Regions from separate parts of the Homo sapiens genome. Here regions 2, 3, 4, 5, 6 and 7 are each linked to region 1. The links are contacts of gene promoters, found by promoter capture Hi-C in blood cells and fetal thymus (Javierre and others, 2016). All regions are on one chromosome and are shown on one strand. The core of a region is centred on a gene start or on the middle of the fragment in contact, and the rest is flanking DNA. Distances in the headings are between cores, read along the strand shown.

The links. Contacts are between HindIII fragments. The CHiCAGO score rates a contact against its expected background, and 5 or more counts as called.
Region 2: a contact is called between a fragment that was not itself captured here and the fragment with the promoter of ACTG2 in region 1, in 3 of 17 cell types (naive B cells, activated CD4 T cells and total B cells). The highest score is 7.2, in naive B cells.
Region 3: a fragment that was not itself captured here is called in contact with the fragment with the promoter of ACTG2 in region 1 in 1 of 17 cell types (total B cells); the score reaches 5.2 in total B cells.
Region 4: a fragment that was not itself captured here is called in contact with the fragment with the promoter of ACTG2 in region 1 in 4 of 17 cell types (activated CD4 T cells, total B cells, naive B cells and 1 more); the score reaches 7.1 in activated CD4 T cells.
Region 5: a contact is called between a fragment that was not itself captured here and the fragment with the promoter of ACTG2 in region 1, in 1 of 17 cell types (activated CD4 T cells). The highest score is 6.2, in activated CD4 T cells.
Region 6: a fragment that was not itself captured here is called in contact with the fragment with the promoter of ACTG2 in region 1 in 9 of 17 cell types (total B cells, naive B cells, M2 macrophages and 6 more); the score reaches 10.0 in total B cells.
Region 7: a contact is called between a fragment that was not itself captured here and the fragment with the promoter of ACTG2 in region 1, in 1 of 17 cell types (activated CD4 T cells). The highest score is 6.9, in activated CD4 T cells.

Annotation. Positions count from the first base shown.
Region 1 is chr2:73,891,190-73,894,527 of GRCh38, reverse strand. It overlaps ACTG2 (actin gamma 2, smooth muscle), which reads right to left and starts at 1,520. Exons shown (of 9, transcript NM_001615.4): 1 at 1,477-1,520. RefSeq lists an enhancer at 1,631-2,444. The HindIII fragment of the contact is 3,877 bases long and covers 1-3,338 here.
Region 2 is chr2:74,324,474-74,327,893 of GRCh38, reverse strand. The region is part of intron 5 of SLC4A5 (solute carrier family 4 member 5); the gene reads left to right. Among named protein-coding and RNA genes, the nearest start is that of SLC4A5, 17 kb to the left of the region's middle. The HindIII fragment of the contact is 3,097 bases long and covers 1-2,971 here.
Region 3 is chr2:74,304,535-74,308,231 of GRCh38, reverse strand. It overlaps SLC4A5 (solute carrier family 4 member 5), which reads left to right. Exons shown (of 31, transcript NM_133478.3): 7 at 3,552-3,697. It also overlaps the pseudogene KRT18P26. Among named protein-coding and RNA genes, the nearest start is that of SLC4A5, 37 kb to the left of the region's middle. The HindIII fragment of the contact is 227 bases long and covers 1,620-1,846 here.
Region 4 is chr2:74,361,043-74,364,313 of GRCh38, reverse strand. It overlaps DCTN1 (dynactin subunit 1), which reads left to right. Exons shown (of 32, transcript NM_004082.5): 27 at 686-700; 28 at 887-1,020; 29 at 1,137-1,320; 30 at 1,585-1,664; 31 at 2,173-2,262; 32 at 2,678-3,159. The coding sequence ends at 2,815. Among named protein-coding and RNA genes, the nearest start is that of DCTN1, 18 kb to the left of the region's middle. The HindIII fragment of the contact is 2,943 bases long and covers 297-3,239 here.
Region 5 is chr2:74,272,820-74,276,117 of GRCh38, reverse strand. The region is part of intron 8 of SLC4A5 (solute carrier family 4 member 5); the gene reads left to right. Among named protein-coding and RNA genes, the nearest start is that of SLC4A5, 69 kb to the left of the region's middle. The HindIII fragment of the contact is 2,176 bases long and covers 404-2,579 here.
Region 6 is chr2:74,343,629-74,347,164 of GRCh38, reverse strand. No RefSeq gene overlaps it. Among named protein-coding and RNA genes, the nearest start is that of SLC4A5, 2.0 kb to the right of the region's middle. The HindIII fragment of the contact is 204 bases long and covers 2,074-2,277 here.
Region 7 is chr2:74,384,178-74,387,793 of GRCh38, reverse strand. It overlaps DCTN1-AS1 (DCTN1 antisense RNA 1), which reads right to left and starts at 2,291. Exons shown (of 3, transcript NR_158174.1): 1 at 2,044-2,291. It also overlaps a transcript of DCTN1 not described here. The HindIII fragment of the contact is 1,624 bases long and covers 1,201-2,824 here.

The DNA of each region.
Region 1 (3,338 bases), core at 271-2,770:
GCCCATAATAAGTGCTCAATAAATGTTGGCAGAATGAACAAGGGGAAAGAGGAAAGATATCTCGCCCCAAGGTCATGATGTCACACGGCCCATCCCCTTTTCTCAGGCCTGGCATGTAGGATCTTACTGTTCATTGCAGTTTCTCCAGCACCCATCCCTCTCTGTCACAGGAAGCTCTTCCTCTTTTCAGCCCAAGGGTTAGTATCAGAGTCCAAACCCACATTCAAGTAATCAAAGTGAGCACTTAGAGCCTCCCTGTACAAAGTGTGGTCCCAGACCAGCAGCTTCAGTGTCGCCTGGGAGCTTGTTAGGAATTCCAAGTATCAGGCCATATCTCGGCCTACTGGAATCAGAATCTGGGGTGGGGCATGGGGCAATCTGTGTTTTAACAAGCACTCCAGGTGATTCTTAAAGTTTGAGAACTCAGGGCCGGGCCCTGACAGCCTTGAGCTGAGTGCTGTATATACGCATTCTCTCGTTTAATCCTCACACCATCGCCAAGTAGATATTATTATTCTTGCCCCCATTTTACAGGTGAGGAAGCTGAGGTCGCTCAGTAACTTGGTTAGCCTGACAGTCTGCCTTCAAGGCCTGCACTGCCACACCCAGCCTGCCTCACCTGTGAAGAGATGCTAGTGAATTCTGATGCCAAACATAGAAGTGGCCCCTTCATCTCATCTTCCTCTTAATTCTTTGTGCATGTGTTGTGTGTGTGTTGGGTGGGTTGGGGGGAGTAATGACATCTGCAAATGGGTCACAGTTGGGTGTGAGTCTTTTGGATGAGTGGCTGTACGTCTCTAGGCCTCAATGTCCTCATCAGAGGAGAATGAACTAGATGGGTCCCAAGTTCCTTCTACCCTGAAACCTCACGATGCCACAGGGCAAGTGGAATTTTCTCCATCCCCCAATGATCCTAGAGCCTTCAAGGACTGCAGAAACCCTCCATTCTCCTCAGCCAAGCACAGATCAGAGGACAGAGAGACCCACAGGGGACCTGAAGAAAATACCCTCCCATTCCCAGCACAGACATTTCATGGACTAAACAGCTCACAGACACCAGGACCACTGTTGGCTTTGACTCAAGTATTCTGAAAAGCTGCTTTTCTGCAAAGTATATGATCCCCTAAAACAGCCTCCCAGACATTCTAACCCAAGACAAAGGACATCAGGGTGTGGATCTGCACTGGCCCTGGGGAGCAGGGCTAGTAGAGACTGCAGGCATTATATCCCGCCAGTCCCCATTCTGAGGCAGGGAGCACGGTTCCAAGCTGCCCCTGCCCCAGGATGTCCCATGGCCAGATACGCCTTTTCTCAGCAGGCTGCAGTATGCTTGCAGGTGCCGCTGCCCACCAAGGGCTCTGGTGTGTGATCTGGGCCAGCGTCACAGAAGCCAGGCCAATCTGGAGGCACCTCCCGCACCCAGGAGGCCAGGCAGCCCCGGAAAGGAAGAGGTGGCAAAAGCCGTACAGTACTTACCGAGGGTATGAGAGGTTCTTCTCCCAGTGACTGAGGGCTGGTGTGTCTTTGGCATGAATACCAGAGCAATATAAAACCCCAGAGGCGGATCTTCTTTAAACAAAGTCCCTAAAAAGGCCAGCTGACGGTGTGTTAGCAATATTACCATATAAGGTGGTTTTTTCAATAAATCGCCTTGGGGGTAGGGAAGGGGGGTGGGTAGAGTGAGTTATCATTTGAAAAATGTATGCAAAAGGACTCAGTGGCAACAGCCCCGGTGCTGGTAGATTTGTTCCTTTTATGCTGCACTTGCATAAACAAAACTCACACCAGGCCTTATAAGCTGCCCAGAGTGAGACCAGATGCAGCTGTGCTCCTGGAGTGAGAACCATACCAAGAATGGCAGCGGGCCTCCTCCGTCCACACCTCCCTCCTCAGGCCCTGCTGCATGCGGCCCCTGGGTCTGCCTGGGACGCCCAGGCACTGTCCCCAAAATGGGTGCAATCATGCCTTGTCTGGCACGAGCCTGGGACCAATGAAAGCTGAAGAGAAATGCCTTCCGTACCCAGGAAAGAAATCCTGCGTGCCCTACTCACCTGCTGCACCTTGACACAAGCTCCTAACCCTTGGGCTGAGTTCTCTGAGGGTCTCAGGACACCTTAGGCTTCATTCTCTCTTGGCTCCTTCCTGGTTTTCCTTTAAATATCTCTAAATATCTGCAGACTGAGGGACCTGCTTCAGGGTTGAGGCACACCTAACAAGACTCTTGGCCTGTAGGATTTTCCACAGTCCTGTGATTCTTGAGCTGCTTCTTTTTCTTTTTTGAGATAGAGTCTCGCCCTATCCCCCAGGCTGGAGTGCATTGGTGCAATCTCGGCTCACTGCAACCTCCGCCTCCCAGGTTCAAACAATTCTCCTGCCTTAGCCTCCTGAGTAGCTGAGATTACAGGCACCTGCCACCATGCCCAGCTAATTTTTGTATTTTTAGTAGAGACAGGGTTTCACCATGTTGGCCAGGCTGGTCTCGAGCTCCTGACCTCGTGATCCACCTGCCTTGGCCTACAGGTGTGAGCCACTACGCCTGGACTTCTTTTTGTTTGTTTGTTTTGTTTTTAATTAGACAGGGTCTCGATCTTGAACTCCTGGATTCAAGCAATCCCTCCACCTTGGTCTCCCAAAGTGCTGGGATTACAGGTGTGAGCCACCATGGCTGGCTGATGATTGCTCTTCTTTGTGTAATTCATGTACTATCCCTAGGTAGCTGGTTCATTTCCCACATTATCAGCTACCAGCTCTGCAGTATTACTTTCAACTCCACATTCTCATGGTCCCCCTCCCTCACCCTGATCCAGACTAAAATGATCAATTGCCTATTGGACATCCCAATCCAGATGACTCTCCAGCTCTTCAAACTCATCCTGTCTAAAACTGAACCCTTCTTCCCTACCCTCAAAGCTGCTGTGCCTCCTGGGTTGCCAACTTCCAAGTCCACCCCTCGGCCCTTCAAGCTAGAAGTCAGTCAGTCTAGAACCCTGTGTCTCCCTCATGCTCCCACAACCACCTGGGCACCACAGCCTGGTGCTCCCCCGACCAGAAATGCCCCTCAGCTCTGTGTCCTCCCTCAATCCCTGCTGGCCTGCGCTGCCTCAGGCTCCAGTCCTATCTGGCCTGGAGTGGGGCGCAGCTTCCTGACTGGCCTTCCTGACTCTGCTTCGTCTTCAACACAGAGGTTCCCAAAGCATGGGGACCACCAGAGTGCAGCAGCAGCATGATATGGGAATGTGCTCACAATGCAGATTCTCAGGTGTCACCTAGCCCTATTGAAACAGAAACTCAGTGAATAGGCCTCAGCCATCTGTGTTTCTTAAACTTTCCCCACCCGG
Region 2 (3,420 bases), core at 174-2,673, 430 kb before region 1:
AAACCACTCCAAATTAACAGAAATGACAGGAAACTTGTTCTGTCTGACACCATGGTAAGTTAGTTCTATCTTGTTCTCATCTAATAGAACTGAATCTTTCTCTTCTAGTACGTAAATTTCTGTTGTCTTTGTCAAATGTGTTAGACTGGCTGAAATACTTATGAAGTAGCAAAAACCCTGAGACTTACCTCTTTCCCAGAAAACCATGGGAAAATAAATTATATCTGCTAATGTAGCATCTCAGGATAGAAACAGAATAATGGCTAGTCTCCTTTCATTACACATTTTTGTTTTTAGGTTTTGGATACGGTACCTGGTTTTGCTACTGCTAGTTTTCTTAGGGATATTTGTTTGTTTTGTCCTTTCTCTCCTGGAGCATGCGTGGGTGTTTCAGTCTGCAGGGCCCCGAGGCAATGGACAAGCTAGGGGTTGAGAGGGTAGCCTTTCCCTGGCTTCTAGCTTAGCTTTCTAAAGCCCAGCATGACCCCGTGTCATTCTTGTCGATTCAGTTCACAAAATAATCCCAGATAAGCCCTTGGGGAAGTCCTTTTCTGAAATACTCTGGGCTGTCAGAAGGGTGCATCAGACACCATGTTGGCTGGTCTAGAGTTCTTAGATATCAAGGTCAAGTGGCTTAAAATATGGGGTGGAAAGAAAAGCTCCCCAAAAGCTGACCAGTGAATGTGGCACAACCTTTTTACTAGTTACCTTTTTTCCCAGAGACATGGATGTCTAATCTTAAGGATTCATTACTATGCTTTACTCTTCTTCCCTAGTAATGAAACTATTTTGTTCTGTTCCCAGTGTCTAGTGCAAATATCTGGAACAAAGTGGATACTCAATAAGGATTTGTTGGATTGAATTGATGTGTCCTTGTGGATAGGGAAGGGGTGGGCACCTAAACACCAGATGATTCTATCACAAGGGCTCTGATGACTAAAACGTGTCATACATCTTTAAAGCTAGCTGTGTCACCACCACCTTGCTGCTTTGGGCATGCAGTCTGCTTGGGCAAGGACCCCTGTGTGTCTGTTTGCTAGGATAGCACTCTGATCCTTGGTCTTACAGGCTTAAGGTGTTTTGTTTGTTTGTTTGTTTTTGTTTTTGAGTGCAGTGGTGCCATCTCAGCTCACTGCAACCTCTGCCTCCTGGATTCAAGCAATTGCTGTGCCTCAGCCTCCCGAGTAGCTAGGATTACAGGCGTGCACCACCACACTCGGCTAATTTTTGTATTTTTAGTAGAGACAGGGTTTCACCATGTTGGCCATGCTGGAATCGAACTCCTGACCTCGTGATCTGCCCGCCTCGTCCTCCCAAAGTGCTGGGATTACAGGCGTGAGCCACTGCACGTGGCCCAGGTGTTGATTTTGTCAGTAGGGTTTTGGATTCTCAGGGATCCCAGATGTGATTTCAGGCTAGTGGTAGGGGCAATGAAATGGAAAGTGACTTTTGACTCAGGACAGAAGAGAATTTTGTGTGTTCCCTTACTGTAAAGCCATGCTCAACACCAAGGCGATCTATGATCTAAAGATGGATGGGGGAATAACAGTGAGCTAGTTGGGCAGGGAAGAGACTGGTGTTACAGGTCCTTTCATTTGCTGCATGCCAGAGGCTGATGTGTTGCTAGCACAATTCCTTTGGCAAGATATTGTAGTGGATGATTGTACTGGTTAGTACTCTTTGGATACAAGTAACTCAAATCAGCTGAAGCTAGTTGAAGAGAAAAGAGGGTTTTTAAAATTTTTTTATTTTTTTAAACATCAAATGCCTTTTTACCAAGGAGGGACTTATTATAATACCAGGGAAGTCTTGTGGACCGGAGTTCAGCCAGGCCTCAGGAAGGGCCTGGAACCCAGAAGTGGAAGACTGTCAGTAACCCATACCAGGCCCCCTCTGTTTCTCACATCTTTATTTCTCTTTCGTCTTTCTCCCTCCTTCCTTCTCCCTTCCTTCTCCCTTCCTCCTCCCCTCCTTTCCTTTCCTTTCCTTTCCCCTTCCCTTCCCCTTCCCCTTCCCCTTTCCCCCTCCCCTCCCCTCCCTTCCCTTCCTTCTTCCTTCTTTCCTTAGGTTTGAGAATCAAAAAGAATCCAGTTTGAACCCTGGCTCCACCATGGCTGGTTCTGTGATCCAGGACAAATCACTTAACTCTTAGTCTTCATTTACTCATCTATAAAATGTGGGTGAAAATTATATACCTCACTGAATTATAGTGAGGATTCAATAAGATGATGAAAGCAAAATACCTGACATTCAACTAATACACATTATATGAAATGCTGGAGGTAGAAATTCTGTTGCATGAATTAGGCTGGGACTTTTATGGTGGGCAGTATAGTTGCCAGTCAGAGCAGAGCTAATCCAAACACTTCCCCAGGGCCAACACTCAGCTTCAGATGGATGGACTCCTTTGAAGATCATCTCAGGGAGTTTGGGTTCTTCTACTTCTGCATATTCCTGGGAGGGAGCTTCTCTCAAGTTGTGAGAAGTTGGGATCTAGCACAGAGGACATGAAGCAGGAATGGTCTTAGCTAGTCCAGAACTGGAAGGTATGCATCTACCTGAATATTATAGCTACATTATAGCTCCATACTTCTATAGTTTGTAGAGTTCTCATCTGTGTTTGCATATGTATTGTCATTTGTCAGTGACAAGCAGGCATTTCATTATTTTTCCAACAAACTTTCTTTTCCAATCTGAGAATCCATAGTACTTCAAATAGGAAATAACACATTTTAAAATCATGTTGGAAAGCTCTATTTCATTTTCATTAGTCAGGCACTTGTGATTGCAAACATGAGAAGCCCAACTCAAACATGAGAAAAAATAAAGTGAATTTAACAGCTCAACACAACTGAGAAGGACAGTTCAAAATTAACTGACTCAGGGAGTCACAGTGTTATCTGGACTCTGTTTCTCTACTTTTCTTGAATGCTTCCCTCCATGTGACAGGCAAAATAGTAACTTCCAAGCTTATCAGCTTAGCAGTGCCAGAGTGAGCAGAGTTTTTGGATGAATCAAGCAGAAATGTCCTGGGAAGAATTCTGATTGGCCCAGTTAAGGACATGGGATCATTCCTGAACCAGTCTCTGTGGCTGGAATGGGGTGTGTTTGACCAGCCTGGGTCACATGGCCTTTCCTTCAGAGGCTTGGGGAGACATGGAGTCTCCCCCTAAGACATTTGAAGGTGGTTGTCTATGGGAAAAAAAATCTGTTACTCAGCTTCTCTGTACTCTTCACACCATACTGGAGTAGGAAGATATCAGCTTTTTAAAAATCACCAACTGACCCAATTTAATAAAAAATATAAATTGGGAGTTACTTTCTTAAAATAGAGGTTTTAAATGTGGTCCCTGGATCAGCATCATCAGCAGCAACTGGGAACTTGTTGGAAATGTACATTTCCAGGCCCCAACCTAGAGC
Region 3 (3,697 bases), core at 484-2,983, 410 kb before region 1:
CAACTGAGTTGAAAATTATGTTCACATAGAAGCCTACATATGAATGTTTAGAGCTGCACTATTCATTATCACCAAAACTGGAGGCCACCAAGATGTCCTTCAATAGGAGAATGGATGAACAAACTACAGTACATTGATCGGTGGAATATTGTTCAGAGATAGAAAGAAATGAGGTCATCAGCAAAGCCTGAGTCCTTTCCTCTCACTCTCCTCCCCGGACAGCATGAGCTTCACCACTCGTTCCACCTTCTCCTCCAACTACTGGTCCCTGGGCTCTGTCCAGCCACCCAGCTACGGCGCCTGGCTGGTCAGCAGTGTGGCCAGTGTCTATGCAGGTGCCGGGGGCTCTGGTTCCTGGATCTCTGTGTCCTGCTCCACCAGCTTCCAGGGTGGCATGGGGTCTGGGGGCCTGGCATGGGGATGGCTGGGGGTCTGGCCAGAATGAGAGGCATCCAGAACGAGAAAGAGATCATGCAAAGCCTGAACGACCTCCTGGCCTCCTACCTGGACAGTGAGGAGCCTGGAGACTGATAACAGGAAGCTGGAGAGCAAAATCCGGGAGCACCTGGAGAAGAAGGGACCCCAGGTCAGAGACTGGAGCCATTACTTCAAGACCATTGAGGACATGAGCGCTCAGATCTTCGCAAATACTGTGGACAATGCCCACATTGTGCAGATCGACAGTGCCCATCTTGCTGCCAATGACTTTAGAGTCAACTATGAGACAGAGCTGGCCATGCGCTAGTCTGTAGAGAGCGACATCCGTGGGCTCCACAAGGTCATTGATGACACCAGTGTCACTCGGCTGTAGCTGGAGACAGAGATCGAGGCTCTCGAGGAGCTGCTCTTCATGAAGAAGAACCACGAAGAGGAAGTAAAAGACCTACAAGCCCAGATTACCAGCTCTGGGTTGACCATGGAGGTACATGTCCCCAAATCTTAGGACGTTGATAAGATCATGGCAGACATCTGGGCCCAATATGATTAGCTGCCTCAGAAGAGCCGAGAGGAGCCAGACAAGTACTGCTCTCAGCAGATGGAGGAGAGCACCACAGTGGTCACCATGCAGTCTGCCAAGGTTGGAGCTGCTGAGATGATGCTCATGAAACTGAGACGTACAGTCCAGTCCTTGGAGATTGACCTGGACTCCATGAGAAATCTGAAGGTCAGCTTGGGAAACAGCCTGAGGGAGGTGGAGGCCCACTACACCCTGCAGATGGAGCAGCTCAATGGGATCCTGCTGCACCTGGAATCAGAGCTGGCACAGACCCAGGCAGAGGGACAGTGCCAGGCCCAGGAGTACAAGGCCCTGCTGAACATCAAGCTCAAGCTGGAGGCTGAGATCACCACCTACCACTGCCTGCTGGAAGATGGCAAGGACTTCAATCTTGGTGATGCCCTGGACAGCAGCAACTCCATGCAAATCATCCAAAAGAACACTACCCACTGGATAGTGGATGGCAAAGTGGTGTCTGAGAATAATGACACCAAAGTTCTGAGACATTAAGCCAGCAGAAGCAGGGTACCCTTTGGGGAGCAGGAGGCCAATAAAAAGTTCAGAGGTTAAAAAAAAAAAAAAGAAATGAACTATCAAACCTTGAAAACACATGGAGGAAGCTTAAATGTATATTGCTAGTTGAAAGAGCCAATATGAAAAGGCTTCATAATATATGATTCCTGTAAGAGTGAAAGAAAGGAAAGAAACACGAAAAGTGGCTCGGCAGTCAAAGACAGTTTTACTTTGGAGAATAAACCTGAGAGGGGTTTCTGGCCGATTTGGGTCAGAAGCGCTCTCTCTTACAGACTAAGACTATTTATTTTAGGGTAAGAGAACTTACCACAAGCTTGGAATGTTTCTGTTTGGGGAAGAAGTTTTGGTGGTGTTGGAATGTCTCTGGTCAGAGAGGCAGTTATCCTGGGGCTAACATCTCTCTGGCCAGAGGGGAGGTTATCTCAGGGCTGGCATGTCTCTGGTCAGGGAGGGGTTTTGAATGTTTCTAGTTGGAGATGTTATTTGTGGCTTATGGTCATGCTCACCTTAGCCATTAGGCTGATGCCCTTTGGATTTAGGTGGTTTTTGATCAAGGTGAACTTTAGAATGGCAGTGCTTGTCCAACAAGATGGCAATGCTCCTGCTCTGTCAATTCCAACTCTGTGATATTTTGGAAAAGGCAAAATTGTAGAGATAGTAAGTAAAAAGGGGGTTGGAGCCAGGCACGGTGGCTCACGCCTATAATACCGGCACTTTGGGAGGCCAAGGCGGGTGGATCACAAGGTCAGGAGTTCGAGACCAGCCTGGCTAACATGGCGAAACCCTGTTTCTACTAAAGATACAAAAAATTAGCCAGGCATGGTGGTGCGTGCCTGTAATCCCAGCTACTTGGGAGGCTGAGGCAGGAGAATTGCTTGAACCTGGGAAGGGGAGGTTGCAGTGAGCCAAGATTGTGCCACTGCATTCCAGCCTGGGCGACAGGGCAAGACTCCGTCTCAAAAAAAAAAAAAAAAAAAAAGGAAAGAAAAGGGAGTTGGAGGGAGGAAGGGGTGGGATGAAGAGGTGAAATACAGGATATTTAGAGTAGTGAAGCTATTCTATATGATATATAATTGTAGATGTATGTCCTTATGCATTTGTCAAAACCCATAGAAGTATCTATACAATAGAAGAGTAAACTTTAATGTAAACTATATAGTTAATAATAATGTGTCAGTATTGGCTCATTAATTATAACAAATGCACCACACTAATGTAAGATGTTAATAATAGGGAAAGCTGTAGGGGCAGAGGTAGGATTAGGGTCGAGGTAGGTATATTGAACTCTGTGTGCTGTCTGCTCAATAATTCTGTAAATCTTAAACTGTCCTAAAAATCTATTAATTATTTTAAAAATTGTTGACTTAAGACAACACTGATGTTAAACTGATAGCAATGTCCTATCTGAGAGGTGAGGGAATTCCAGCTACCTCTGTGTGCTTTGCCCATTACCCTGGGTTTCAATAGTAATCAGGCTTATTAGTGGGATTCTGAATTAGGGCTCTTGGTAACTTTAGTTCTTAGAAATTTTAGTTTACAAAGCCAGCTTTGTGAAACCCTCAATAACTCACTTTTCTGATAAGTAGTCTATGTAGTCCTTGATTGTTAGTAAAAATGGCTCTCAGTAGAAATGCATATGACTTTCTCATAACAATCAAAGAGGGCACTTGGCATTTTGAACTACATCTGTGACCCACTGAGGGACTTTCCCCTTAACCACGTGTCATAAGCCATATCCAGTAATCACTGTTCCGGACAAGCAAGAACGGGGGAATGGGAGTTCTGCTCATTCTAACAGAATTCTAATTATAGCACTGAGGGTATTCCCTCCAGCAACTGTTGATTTGGTTCATTAATGGAACTTGGTCAAACCCAAGCCTCAGGGCAATGACCCCATCCTGGCACTCCATGTCTTCCATTTTGCTTCTGCAGCCCAATCTCTTTGTAACTGATGAATATTATGAAAAAATGCCAATTTTCAGTAACCCTGCCTCCCCTGTCTTTTGTGCCGTGTCCACAGAATGCCCTCCTATCCACATTGGGCTTCCAGTACCCACTTACCCTCAAAGAAAAACTGACCAGAAGGGACATCTTTCAGGCCTGCAAAAAGTCCACTGGGGCCTGCGGCCAGACCAGCCACAGCAGGAACTGACTGGCCCAGGGAGT
Region 4 (3,271 bases), core at 519-3,018, 470 kb before region 1:
TACATAGAGTCTTTGACAAAGTCTCTGTTACTGACACCCCTTGATCTTGGGAGGTGACCAAGTACCTTCTTGACTTTAGGCTCTTGTGGTACAGACAGCTCTGTGTTCTTTGGAGAGAGTTTCCAGGATTACTACTTTGTGTTGTTTTTAGCACTCTTGAAACAAACATTAGCACTCTTTAAACAAACATAGTTCTGAATTTATGAAACTTCCCACCAAAAAAGAAGGTCTTTTGCCTCAGAGCAATGGGGAATCCTTAGGAGCAAGGGAGTGTGTTTGCATCCCCAACTTAAGCTTTGCTGCTGGTGAGCACTAAGGGTGCAGACATATTGGGGTCTCTGGAGCATTCTCCGTGCCCTTCTTGGAGATGGCATCTGAGACAGGGAGGCAGGAACAGCCTCATGTTCCAAGTACTTTGTACAGTGCACACTCTCTTTGCCACTGTTCTTCACACATTGTACCCTGTCTTGTGGCCTCACTCCTGTTTGGTGTCTTTCTTTAACACTTATCTGCTCGTCCCCAAAGATAGGTGGCAGAGAGTCTTGTTAGAGAAAGTATGATGATTAGGAAAAGGGTTTTCCTGCAGGTTGTGTCCAGGATTCCTCTGGTGTGTCCCCGTAACCCCCAAATCACCTAACTCCTCTCTCCTCTTTTCCTGCTCCCCCATGGGCTATCCCGAGCACAGAAGAACAGCAGCGAGGTAGAGACCCACTCTGGCCGGGGGTTACCAGGCTGGTGGGAGTTGGAGCTAAGGGAGCAGGGTGGAGGGGGAAGCCAGGACTGGAGATGGGTGATGGGGGGATGAGGAAAGGGGAAGAGTAGGAATGGAGCCCAATTTTCAACCCTTTCCACTTGGGGCTGATGAGATTTTTTATGGTCCCCACAGGAGCCATCCCTGGGCAGGCTCCAGGGTCTGTGCCAGGCCCAGGGCTGGTGAAGGACTCACCACTGCTGCTTCAGCAGATCTCTGCCATGAGGCTGCACATCTCCCAGCTCCAGCATGAGAACAGCATCCTCAAGGTGAGGGAGCCACGGGGAGGACTGGGATGGGAGATGGAGCATATTTGCCCCATTGATGATAGATGACAGGGGCCTCCTAGCACCTCTTACCACTATCCTTCTTTTTTCATCCACAGGGAGCCCAGATGAAGGCATCCTTGGCATCCCTGCCCCCTCTGCATGTTGCAAAGCTATCCCATGAGGGCCCTGGCAGTGAGTTACCAGCTGGAGCGCTGTATCGTAAGACCAGCCAGCTGCTGGAGACATTGAATCAATTGAGCACACACACGCACGTAGTAGACATCACTCGCACCAGCCCTGGTATGTACCTGCCAACCCCCAAGATGAATAAAACTGCCCCCTCCACTTGGCCCAGGGATTTAGCCCCTGCTCAGGTGGTTCCCCCACCACAGAAGCTCTTCCCAGCAGTGTTCTTTGGCTTCACTGTTCAGTTTGTTTGATTCACCCACTCTCTCTCAAGTACTTGTTCTGTTAGAGAGTCTTATACCTGCACCCCTAACCCTTAATCCAGTAGAACTGCCTGCCTGCGCCTTGGTGGGCCTCACCAGCTTTCTCTCCCCACAGCTGCCAAGAGCCCGTCGGCCCAACTTATGGAGCAAGTGGCTCAGCTTAAGTCCCTGAGTGACACCGTCGAGAAGCTCAAGGTCAGCTCAGTTTGCCAGGCAGAGCTCACTTCACAGCATAAACTGGTGGAGCCAGGCACTTGTGGAGTTCCTCTGAGCCCAGCCCTGTGCTAGACAGCAATTGGGGAGGAGATGGAAGGGAAGGCAGGGTTCTTGCCTTGGAAGCTCACTGTCTCAGTGCAAACAGAAGACAGATTCTCATAACAAAATGGATAAGCTAGGGTAATCTTTAGAGTGACTGGTTCAGGCTTTAGCTTCCATCAGCGCTGAGATCATTGTGGGGTAGAACGGTTGGGCATGGCTTCCCAAGAGCGGTAGAATGTGAGTTGGGCCTTACAGGATGAGGACTTGCAAAGTAAGGAGGAGTGCTGGTGTGGGGATGGGGTTGGAGATGAGAGCAAAAGTATGTTGATATAGAGGACTAAGTCCCTGCCCCCCTGGTATTAGTGTCTCTGTGAAACCACGTGGTCTTGTGCTAGCCTGTGGGGGTCCCATAAATGAACCCTTGTCTTCCTCTCCCCTTCCCTAGGATGAGGTCCTCAAGGAGACAGTATCTCAGCGCCCTGGAGCCACAGTACCCACTGACTTTGCCACCTTCCCTTCATCAGCCTTCCTCAGGGTGAGGGGGAGCATGGGGTGGAGGATGGGACAGTGTGGAGAGCTCAGGCGGGCCCCCCTCTCCTCCAGAATTGGAGGAGGCCTTTGGAGTCTCAGGTCTAACAACTGCATACCTTGGGTTATCTGGCCAAATTTTACTTACAAGTAACTCAGAAGTGCTTACAGTGCTTTGAAATTCCAATATTTTAGCACCTAAACACCTTCCGTGACTTTTGACACCAGGAGGGCCTCAAAACTCCCTTGTCAGATTATGTATCCCCATTCTTATTTGAAAAATGTGGTCACAATAGCCCAGGATCTCAGAAGCCCTAGTCACCCAGGAGCTGCCTTGGTCTCAGTGCTCAGGGACCCCTTCAGTGGCCCACAGCTCAAGTGAGCCCCTGACCTGGAGTCTTTTTCTCCTCATCAACCACCAGGCCAAGGAGGAGCAGCAGGATGACACAGTCTACATGGGCAAAGTGACCTTCTCATGTGCGGCTGGTTTTGGACAGCGACACCGGCTGGTGCTGACCCAGGAGCAGCTGCACCAGCTTCACAGTCGCCTCATCTCCTAAGCACTCCTTTCCCCTGCTGTCCCCTTCGACCCTCAGCCCTCTGGTGCCGCTCTGCCCGATGCACAGCCACCTCAGCCAGCCCCCAGGTAGAAACGTGGGTTAAGCTCTTCCTGCCCCGTTCAGCTTCACTCCCACCCTTTCAGCGTCCTGCCCCTTCACCTTGACCCGGGTTCCCCCACTCCCATTCCCTGGCCTCTGCCATAATTTGTTGTTCAACTGCTCCCTCCTTCCTGAGGGGCCTCAGGGCTTGTGGGGGGTAGGCTGAGACCCCACCACCAAAGGTTAAGTGAGGTCCCCTTGATTGAGGACTTCACCCCTTGATTAAAGCAACTTCTGCTTCAGTGCTTCCTGTGTGGTGTTGAGAGTGGGACTTGGGCCATTAAGCTCACAGCAGGAGTGGAGGAGAAGCGATGCTGAGGAAGCTTTGGCTGTATCAAATTTGAGGTCTCCTCTTCG
Region 5 (3,298 bases), core at 242-2,741, 380 kb before region 1:
TCTCCTTCTTTACAATGCTTTAAATATATAAAAACCATGCTTAGCTAGCTGGCCATACAAAAACAGGCTGTGGGGTGCTTGGAGCCCATGAGACATGATATTTCAACCCCAATCTGGTATAAAGCAGGCATGTGCTCATACACACAGCTAACTAAAACCCAGGGTGGTATGTGCAAAGTGGTGAGAACAGGCTCTAGAATCTAAAGACATGCCTTCAAACCCTGTCTCTTATGAGCTGCATGACCTTGGGCAGGCTCCTCATCCTCTAAGGGTCTCAGTCTCCTCACCTGTACAATGAAATAGTCACAGACCTACCTCATGAGACAGATTTAAGGATTAAATGAGATAATACCTGTTAAGTGCTTAGCATAGTGCCTGGCACATAGAAAGCCCTCAGTAAGCTTTAGCTGTTGTCGTGATTAGGAAGTGTTATGTGATAAATGATAAAAAGTGTGATGCGAGTTAGAGGAAAGAGAGGTCTCCTCAACCTTGGCCCTTGGGAAGGCATTGTCTTCCCAACTGGGAAGGAGAGGTGACTTTTGAACTTGGCCCAGAATAGCAGAGGTGGAAGAGAGTGCCTAGGTGAGGAGAGGGCCTCTCCTGAGAGGCAGTGAAGGGAGGTACCAGCAGACTCTGAGGGAGGCAGACCACTGCGTAGATGACAGTCCCATGGGGCAATTACAGGGACTTCCTGGATACACAGACAAGTGGCCCTCAGAGAGGTTTTGGTTCCAGAAGCCTCTCCTTGAAGGAGCCCATTCAGAATTTTTCAGTAACTTTGTCTGATGACATTCACTTAGCTGTGGGCTCTCCTTCAACCCTGAATGAGGACATGGTGTGCAGGAGGATGGACCCTTCACCAAATGCATGAGCTTGGGAGCAGAGGCCACCCCCATTCCATTCACCACAGCTCCCTCGAATGCCACACCTCTGCCCCATCACCACCAGCTGTGCCACTGCAGTTCATCACTGTCTGGGAAGGAGTGTTTCTCCTGTAATGCCCAAACTGTACTGCATCACCAAAGGCCCTCAGCGGAGGTTCCTAGGCCACCAAAAGGAAAGACTTTCATTCAAAGGGAATCAGTCAGCCATGGGAGGAAGTGGGGTTCATTGCAGAACAATCTAAGACAGAAGGCCCTATCAATCTGATCCTAGTCCTAGACATATCTCATGAGTAGAGATGAAAGATCATCCTAAGTCTATTAAACACTGGAATCACTTAACTAATGATTAACTCATTCTGATTCTATATTCAGCAACTTTTTGGTGATAATTTGGCTTACCCTGTATATCTGCCCATGAGGAGAGAATGCAAAGGCTAGAGGATGAACATAACAAACCCCTATAACGATTGTAAATCTCACTGTAAATTAAATAAATTGGCCTTCAGGTTTATGCATCAGCCTTTGTGATCTTGGTTAGCATTAGACAGTGTCACTGGACCTAATCATCTTTGGGACACTAAAAAGATAAAATTTCTGAGCCTGGACCGGGGTGGGTGCCCCAAGAGGCCTGTGAGGCCTTTCTGGTGCTCATCAGCCCCTTCTGGTAGCTTCTGAACTTCTCCATATGTGTGCTGACCCTTGACCCATGCCTGCCCCCTCAGTCTTTTATACTTTATAATCTTTCAAATTTACTGCCAAGTTTGGTTTATTAACATATACATGGTATGCAAAGTCATAATCCGTTGTAGAAACAACTTGTTGTACTATCTCACATACATATTTTCATGCATGTGATTTTATGTAGCATGAATTAGCCAAATAAATTGTAAGAATGGGCCAGAATTTGCTTAGGTGTTTCTCCCGTTTTTTTGAGACAGAGTCTTGCTCTGTTGCCCAGGCTAGAGTGCAGTGGCACCATCTCAGCTCACTGTAACTTCCGCCTGCTGGGCTCAAGTGATTCTCCTGCCTCAGCCACCTTGGGCAGGCTCCTCATCCTCTAAGGGTCTCAGTCTCCTCACCTGTACAATGAGAATAGTCACAGACCTACCTCGTGAGATAGATTTAAGGATTAGATGAGATAATACATGTTAAGTGCTTAGCATAGTGCTTGGCTGGGAGTAGCTGGGATTACAGGCATGCACAACCACGCCTGGCTAATCTTTGTATTTTTAGTACAGACAGGGTTTTGCCATGTTGGCCAGGCTGGTCTCAAAACTCCTGACCTCAAGGGATCTGCCTGCCTTGGCCTCCCAAAGTGCTGGGATTATAGGCGTGAGCCACCAGGCCCGGCCTCAGGTGTTCCCCTTTTGAAAAATCTTCCTTCCACAGATCATTTTTTAGTGCCTCTGTCAAAGACTGAACCAGGGGAGTATCTGATGATTCCTCAGACATCTCTAGGAAAATTCTTAACGGGCTTCTAAGTGAATTAATACTGGTCTTCAGTATCTGTTGGGAAATTCAGTATCCTGATATGACTCATATGAAGTTAAAAAACTTTGCTGGATATTGAAGGAAAACTTACATTTCTTACTTTTAAGAAATGAATTTGTTGGAGTTACAAAATGTATTACAGGCCTTAGGCAGAAAGCACAAACATGTCTTGATGCTTTGTAACTAATACACAGAAGTCAAGCTTTTGGGTAATGGGGCGGGGTGGGAGAGTTACAGAATAAAGTTGGTGAGGCCACATAGATAGAGTGACCACAGGGATATATACTTTACAAATTTTAGCTGAGTAAACTTCATGAAAGAAACAAATTCACACAAATGTAATTCTTAAAACAAATGTTTGGAGGCAACATAGCCTTAGCATTAAAGGTTACATACATTGGGAGATTACATTTTTTAAATTAGAATGTCCTAGGGGGGATTTTGCAAACAAACTAACCAAGACACTATTTAATTATAATGATATTCAAAATAGTATAGATAGAAGCTTCTCTTCAATCACAATGTTTATGTATATTCTCCAGATTTTACTCTTATCTAACTACACATAATGGGCAGCCTGTTGTTTTATCATCTCAAGGATCTGTGTCTTCCTTTTAAAAAATATTGATGTCTGATTGTCAGTCCCCTGAGATTCTGATGTAATTAGTCTGAGATTCAGCCTGGGTTTTAGAATTTGTAAAAAGCTCCCAGATGATCCTAATGCAGCCATTGAAAACTGCTGATACTTACTCTAGCCCAGCAGGATCAGTGGGAGTTACGAAGTTTCCATCTGAGGAGACAACTAGAATAGAGGTCTCTTGGTTTTCAGCCCTTTCCAGATCCTCCTTGAAGGAGAACCTCCTCTTCTCCCATCCTGTGGTTTGAGCATTGGAAGCCTTGACTGTACCTGGTAGCTAGCGCCA
Region 6 (3,536 bases), core at 926-3,425, 450 kb before region 1:
ATAGAAACATCAGTATGTGATCAAGCAGGATGGGTCCCCTCGGCTGGATTTCAGTCTGCCCCTTTGGGAAGGAGGGTGTAGGATGGTGGGTACAGGGTACATAATTTTACAAATGGTGATTTAACACTTGGGAAAAACAAGTTAAATCCTCATATTACACCATATACCAAAGTCCAGATGGATTGAATATTTAAATATACAAAGCAATACCGGAAAAGAACTAGAAGAAAATTTAGAACATACAGATTTTCTATATAAAGAAAATTTATTTTGTATATAAAGTTGGGGATGGCTAAAACTTTTCTAAGATTGACAACAAAACTAGAAACCTTAAAGAATAATATGGATAAATTTGACTTTATTAAAATACACACACACACACATCGTATTAAACCTTCCTGTAAGAAAAAGAAAAAGACTGCAAACAAAATTGAATGACAAATGACAAACAGAAAAATATCTATAATTGGGAGGCCGAGGCGGGAGGATTTCTTGAGCCTAGGAGTTTGAGGTTTTAGTGAGCTGTGATCGCGCCACTGCGTTCCAGCCTGGGTGACAGAGCAAGACCCTTTCTCTAAAAACAAAGAAAAAGAAAAATATTTATAACATAAATAAGTAACTTTTACAAATAAATAGGAAAAAGAAGCTGGGAGTGGTGGCTCATGCCTGTAATTCCAGCACTTTGGGAGGCTGAGGCAGGTGGATCACTTGAGGCCAGAAGTTTGAGACCAGCCTGGCCAACATGGCGAAACCCCATCTCTATTAAAAATACAAAAATTAGCCTGACATGGTGGCGCATGCCTGTAATCCCAGCTACCTGGGAGGCTGAGGCATGAGAATCACTTGAACCTGAGAGGCAGAGGTTACAGTGAGCTGAGATGGTGGCCAGTGCACTCCAGCCTGGGTGATAGAGTGAGACTCCATCTCAAAAATAAATAAATAAATAAATAAATAGAAAAAAGAAACACATCAATAGAAACATAGATATGAATAGGAAATTCACAAAAAATACACTTACCAAGTTAAATCAACCTTAAGTAAAAAATTCGTTCAAGATTGTAAAGTGAACTGTTAACATTTACTTCTCTTTCCTCCCTAAGTCCAACTGGAACTACATTTTTTAAATGAAAAAAAGTAAAGTATGCAACCTCATGAGAGAACTTGAAAAAAAAAAAGTAAAAAGGAAAAATATCCAAAGCAAAAAAAAAAAAAAAAAAAAAGCATTCCAAAGCAGTGCTGGAATACGAGGAGGGGTTTACAGTATACTTCTTTGGACCTGACGCCTAGCACTTTTCCCTTCTGAGAGAAAATCTGCCATCCCCACTTTAGTCGCCTGGTTCATGTGGGAAACTGAGGCTTAGAGACAGCAGAGCTGGGGAGTGGCAGCAGGATATTGTGGCAGGTGGTGGCAGTCGGGGACTTCAGGCTGTGGTCTCACACCGCCACACTGCCTTTCCCTTTTCTCACAGAGAACATTCAAATGGCTGTCTTTCTCTGGCAAGGTAGAAAGCCTCTCAAATAAGTAAGGAACATGCTTTGGTTAACAGCTAACGAGGCATTAGGTCTGGACAGGGAGACAAGCAGTGCAGCAGCCAAATCCCAGTGGACACTAGACACGAGGAAGAAAGCACGGTGCTGCCAGGGCAGGTCCTCCTCCCTCCTTCCTCCTTCCTCCATTAGGAGGATTCCTGAGCCTGCAAACCTGTTCCCTTTGTGCATCCTGGAGGGACAGCCCCTGCCCCATACCTTCCAATACCCTCACCAAACCAGATGAAGCTCACCCTCAAATTCCTGTGTGAAGTGAGAGACAAAAAAACCCCAAACCTGAAGTGTCTGAAATAAATGTCCAAATTATTTGAACAAAACCTGGGTAGGTAGAAACCAAAGGGTTTCACTTGAATGCTTGGCAGTAACGTCTCAACTGGTCTTTCCACCTGTGCTACAATCCACTGTGAAGTCCATTATTCCATTCTTGTACCAAGTCCCCTTCCACATTCCTTTCACTTCAGACATGTTTGCTGATGTTTACACCTCTCCATAGACTACCCAGCCTATCGTCGCATGCCCAAAGCTTTATTTCCCCAAACCTGCCCTGTGCCAGGGAAACTGCTCTCCAGTTCTCAGGATATTTATGCTATGTTCTCCCACCTCTTATGTCTATATTTTTTGTGGCTTCTTCCCTCTGCCTCAGATACCCCTTGGTAGTTCTACTGTTCTAAATCCTACCCCTATCCTATCCCTTCACTGCATCTCCAAGGCCATTTTCTCCACAAAGCTTTTCTTTAACACATGGGGCTGGTAGGTAAGCCATGAACATTTGTGGAACAAGGTAATCCTCCAAACAAGGGTGATTTTTCTTTCACTGAACCCTTCCCTCCCTTTGTGCTTCTTTTTGGAGCCTCACACTCTTCTGAATTTGTTGAATCCCCAACCAGCTGGAAATTCCCTAAGGCCCGAAACTGTTTCTGGCCTAGGCTGTGCTGATCTTCCTGGGACTAAGGGGTTTCCTGGGTCACAGATCTTCTGTGCTAAAACCAGGAAAGCCTCTGGTGACCCAGCATGTGTTGATCTCCCTAGTCTTGCCTGTCTTTGATTCCATGGATTATTAACAGAAACTATAATGTTGGGTTAATGTGTTGGCTTGGGCATGGCCTCCGAAACATGTTTTTTACATGTCTGCCACCAGCAGGCTCTAGATCCAGGAATGAGGCTTTTCCACTAAGGGAAAACTCCACGTGATCTAGGAAGAAAGTGAGGATATCCAACCAGATGATAAATTTCCTATCTGAAAGAGAAGGTCAACCCTGAAATAAGGAGGCTGAAGACCCTTAGAGAAGCCACAGAAGAGACTGGAAGAAGAGGGGTAGAGTTGCTTTTTTAATGGGGCTTCCAGCTCCTACTTTTCTTCCTGTCTGTAAGTCTCTGAGCTTCTGTTCCAGCTCTGTAAGGTTGGGGACGAGAATGCTCTCCCCACTGGACTGTTGAGAGTTCAATGAGGGGAAATGTGTGCATATACCAGGCCCCATGCTGGGTGCCCAGAGACGCTGCGCCTTCCTGGCATGCTTCTCTTCCCCATCGCTCAGCACCGCGTCCCTCACTCCCTCCACTCCCGATTCTCACTTCCTACTCACTGGCTTCTTCCTTCCCATCTTCCTCCAAACTTCCCATTTTCCACTATGTCTCTCTCACCGTATCTTTTTCACTTAAACAAAAATGGAATTCATAAAAACAGAGGCCAAAAGTCAGGATAAACCTGGAAAAATCACCAAGTACGCAAAGTTTTTCTTGCAAGGTTTGGTTTTTTCAAATGCCTTCTTTGTTTTCCTTGCCCATATCCTTCTTCGGAGAGTCAGGATTTGGGGTTTGCAGAGCTGTGTGGCAGTGGAATGTGGAATGTTCTCCTGAATCTCAGTCCCATGAAGAAAAGAGGCAAAAGTCCTGACATCTTTCCTGAGGATTGTCTGATTTAAAAGAGCTGATTCTCCCCAGGCAAATGACTTACCTTTGTTGTGCTGGGACAAGCTGAACAGGCAAGG
Region 7 (3,616 bases), core at 763-3,262, 490 kb before region 1:
AAGCTAAATGTGGAAATTGAAGGGGGAGAACCTGGTTCAGGGACATCGGGAGACTCTTGTAATATCATAGACATGGTTTAGGGCTGAGCTAAGGATTAGGTCAGTGGGGATAGAGAGGACAGGATGAATCTGAGAGAGACTGGAGAAACAGAATTAACCAGACATAATGACTAAATTGGTTGTTGAGAACAAGAGAGGGAGTTGTTGCGGATGACTCAGTTTTCTATTTTGAGTGGATGGTGGTGCCAATAGCAAAGAGAGAATATAGAAGAAGAACTTTTTTTTGTTTGTTTGTTTTTGGTGGGGGAGATACCAAGTGTGTTTTGGGTCATATTGAACTTGAGGGCTCTGTGGCAGTTAGCAGACAGTGAGATATGAGTCTGAAGTTCAGAAGAGTTTCTGTCTAGGGGCAGTAAGTATGAGTGGTAGTTGAAGTTGTGGGAATGGTTGAGGTCTCCCAGCCACGCTTACAGAAGGCTGAAAATAATGACAGAGGAGATGAGAAGGATTGACGTGCAAGGGTAGGAGAGAATGTTGCCCAGGAAGCTAGGAAAGGAGAAAATTCCAGGAAAAGGATTGACAATCTCAGTTGCTACAGGGAGATCAAGTTAGGATGAGCTTGGGAAATGCACCTTGAGGTTGTGTAGGACATTGGGGTCACCAGGGCTCTTTTAAAGTGTGAGCAGCTTCAGTGGAGTGGTAGGGATGGAGCCAGATAGCAATGGATCGAGAAGTAGATGGGAAGTGAAGATAGAGAATGTGTACTCACTTTGAGTAGTTCAGCAGAGAAAGGAAGAATACAGAATGGTGGCAGCTTGTGGAAGAGGTAGCAGGGACTTGTTTTTCCTAGAATGGAAGTCTTGTTTATGGGTTTTCTGATGCCATGTAAGATCCAGTAGACAGGGTGCAATGAAGACACAAGAGAAAAGACGATTGCTAAATCAAGTCCTCAGAGGAGAGGGGAAGGGGTGGGCCCTGAAAAGAAGGGGATACCATTTTCTTTAAAGAGGAATGTTGGAAGAAAGGAAGGAATTTAGGAAGAAAGAGATAATGACATATGCATGCAGATATATCTAAATTTTCAAAGAAATTCTTACCTAATAGGGCCAGTTTTCTTTTTCAGCAAGGTTATCTGCTGAGAGGTGGGAATGCTGGTGTTGGCTTGGGTGGGAGTAAGGACTTGAAAATGTAAAGGAAGCTTGAAATAACTGTTAAGAGGAAAGAGGAAGACAGTGGAACTGAAATAAGCTCCAAGAGTGTTGAGTACCCTCTGAACTGAAATCCTACACTATAAGCCTCCCCTTCATCTTTCTCATAATAATAATGGCTGACATTTATTGAGTGCTTTATACAAGGCACTGTTCTAAGTGCTTTTCAGGCATTCTCATGTGATTTTTACAACAATCCTGTTAGAAAGTTATTGTTATTATCCCTTTCTTCCAGAAGAGGAAATTGAGGCATAGAGGATTAGTAGCGCTTGTATTTGATGAATCTCTTACGTCTGCAGAAATGGATTCCTTTTCCTGAGGCATCAGAGAAGACAGAAATTTAATCCCAACTCCCGGTTTCTGAACCTTGAGAGCCTAGAGTCTAGGGTTGCTAAGGAGGGAATCTTACCATGCCAGTTTGTGGGCATGATGGTGGCATGGAGGGGGCAGGACAGTGGGATCACTGTTGCTGTCAGCTTTTGACAACTACATAGGGAAACTCGGATATTCTTGAGTGATTTTTCCAGCATCCTGACTAGAAAGACAAGTGACCGATAGTGATTTGTCAGGTATTGTGGGCTGAGATTGTGTCATCTGAGAGGTGAATAAGAAGAGAGACCTTGTCCCTGTTCCTATCACCTAGAAAAGGAGAATTTTTTCTTGGCAGAGAGACAGGCAGATCTAAAACCTTATATAATAACATAATGATTATTAACTCACCTTATGTGTTTTCTCAGTTTGTGTGACAGATACAATTTGTAGGTAAGCTGTATACCTGACTTGAGTGAAAGGAGAGAGTGATGGGATGGCGTGGATGGAAGAGAAACGGACTTACCTTTTCCTGCTGCAGCCACTGAAGCATCATCTCTGTGTCCTTCCTTTTGAGGTTGCCATGGATACGCCTTTGCATGGTGGTTTGAGGAGATTGATTTCCATTATGATCAGATGATGACGTGGGTTTAAAAAGAGAAAGGATGGAATGCTCTGCTTTTGGGGAGTGGCCGGCGAGCTGCCCAAAAGGCAGAGCCCAGTACAGCCGATAGGGCTGTGGCTTTGTTGGCTGCTTTGGCTTTTGCTGAAGTTGTGAAATGGTGCATCTCTCTCTTTAGAGCGCAGGCTCAGGGTTCCCTGTCTACAGGGTCCTAGTGCCAGGAACTTGCTGGTTGATTCAGGGGGAGGAATCAGCAGGAACTTCGAACAGCCTAAGTAGGACTTCTGATACCACTGAGAGGATTGAGGTTCTTGAGTGCAGGGCTGAGTGCCTCTTGCCTTCTTGCAGAAGTTCCTATATTGAAGATAAGTGAAGCATATAGCATAGCTTTTCTTCTTGACTTTTAGAGGTCTGGGCCCTTGGAGGTGGGCCTGGAAGTCACTGGATATTTCTGGGGAAAGGGGACATTTTGAGATGGAGTAGAGCTGCATTCAGAGTGGGAGTGGGTTTGTAGACGTTTTTTTAGGGTAATGAGGAGCTGGAGAAGGGAAGGAAGTCCGTTGAGTGTGTAGGCCTTATCTATGAAATCCGCAAGGCAGATACTGAGTAGGACCTAGGAACAAAAAGCTCTGTGTACGTTGTCTTCTGGGGTCCTGTGAATATCTGGAATCCAGCTTTCCAAGCTTCCAGTCTCCCAGCCTCCATTTACCACTCAGTAAGCAGACCTTTTCCTTTCTGACTCCTGAAGGACTTAGGTCCACGTTTATCTCTTCCTTACTAGTGCTTTCAGAGATGTATAGTTTTGCCTTGCTGTCAGACTGCCTGGGTTTCAGACAAGCTCCTCTAGGAGTGGGAAAGCAGGGAAAGCAGACAGTTGGGTTAGCCCAGGATCAAGGTTTGATAAGGTGAGACAAGAGGAGATCAAGGTATCAAAGGATGCTGGGGTGCCAGTAAAAACAAGGTAGAAATGGTTCAGACAGGGGAGAAATGGTAGAGGTGGAAAAGAGGCTTTTCCTCCTCACTTTCTCCTTTTTCATTCTCCAAAATCTTATTTTCCTATAATTTCCTGAAATTTCTCTAAGACTATTGGCAGACACAGAGATTATTATTTATCAGACACAGAGATTTTTCCCCTCCTCTCTTCTCATTTTTCTAGATATTTTAGTGGTATTTAATATCATTGGAGAGGAAAATGGATTAGAAATCCAAGAGGTGTCTGTCTCCTCCCTGGCTGGGGTAACATTAACCCAGGATTGTCCTATGGGATATGGGCCTGGGCCCGGTAATGCTGTGGAAGGAGCACCTACCTGTAGAGATATTCAGATGTGCCCCTCTGCCATTTTTTGGCTATGAGACTTGGGCAAGTCATTTGACTTCTGAGACATAGTTCTGTCATCTGTGGAATGGAGAGAATGGAATCTGTTTTGGCTACATCACAGGTTCATTTTTGAAGGAGATAGTGAAGTACATGTATTCG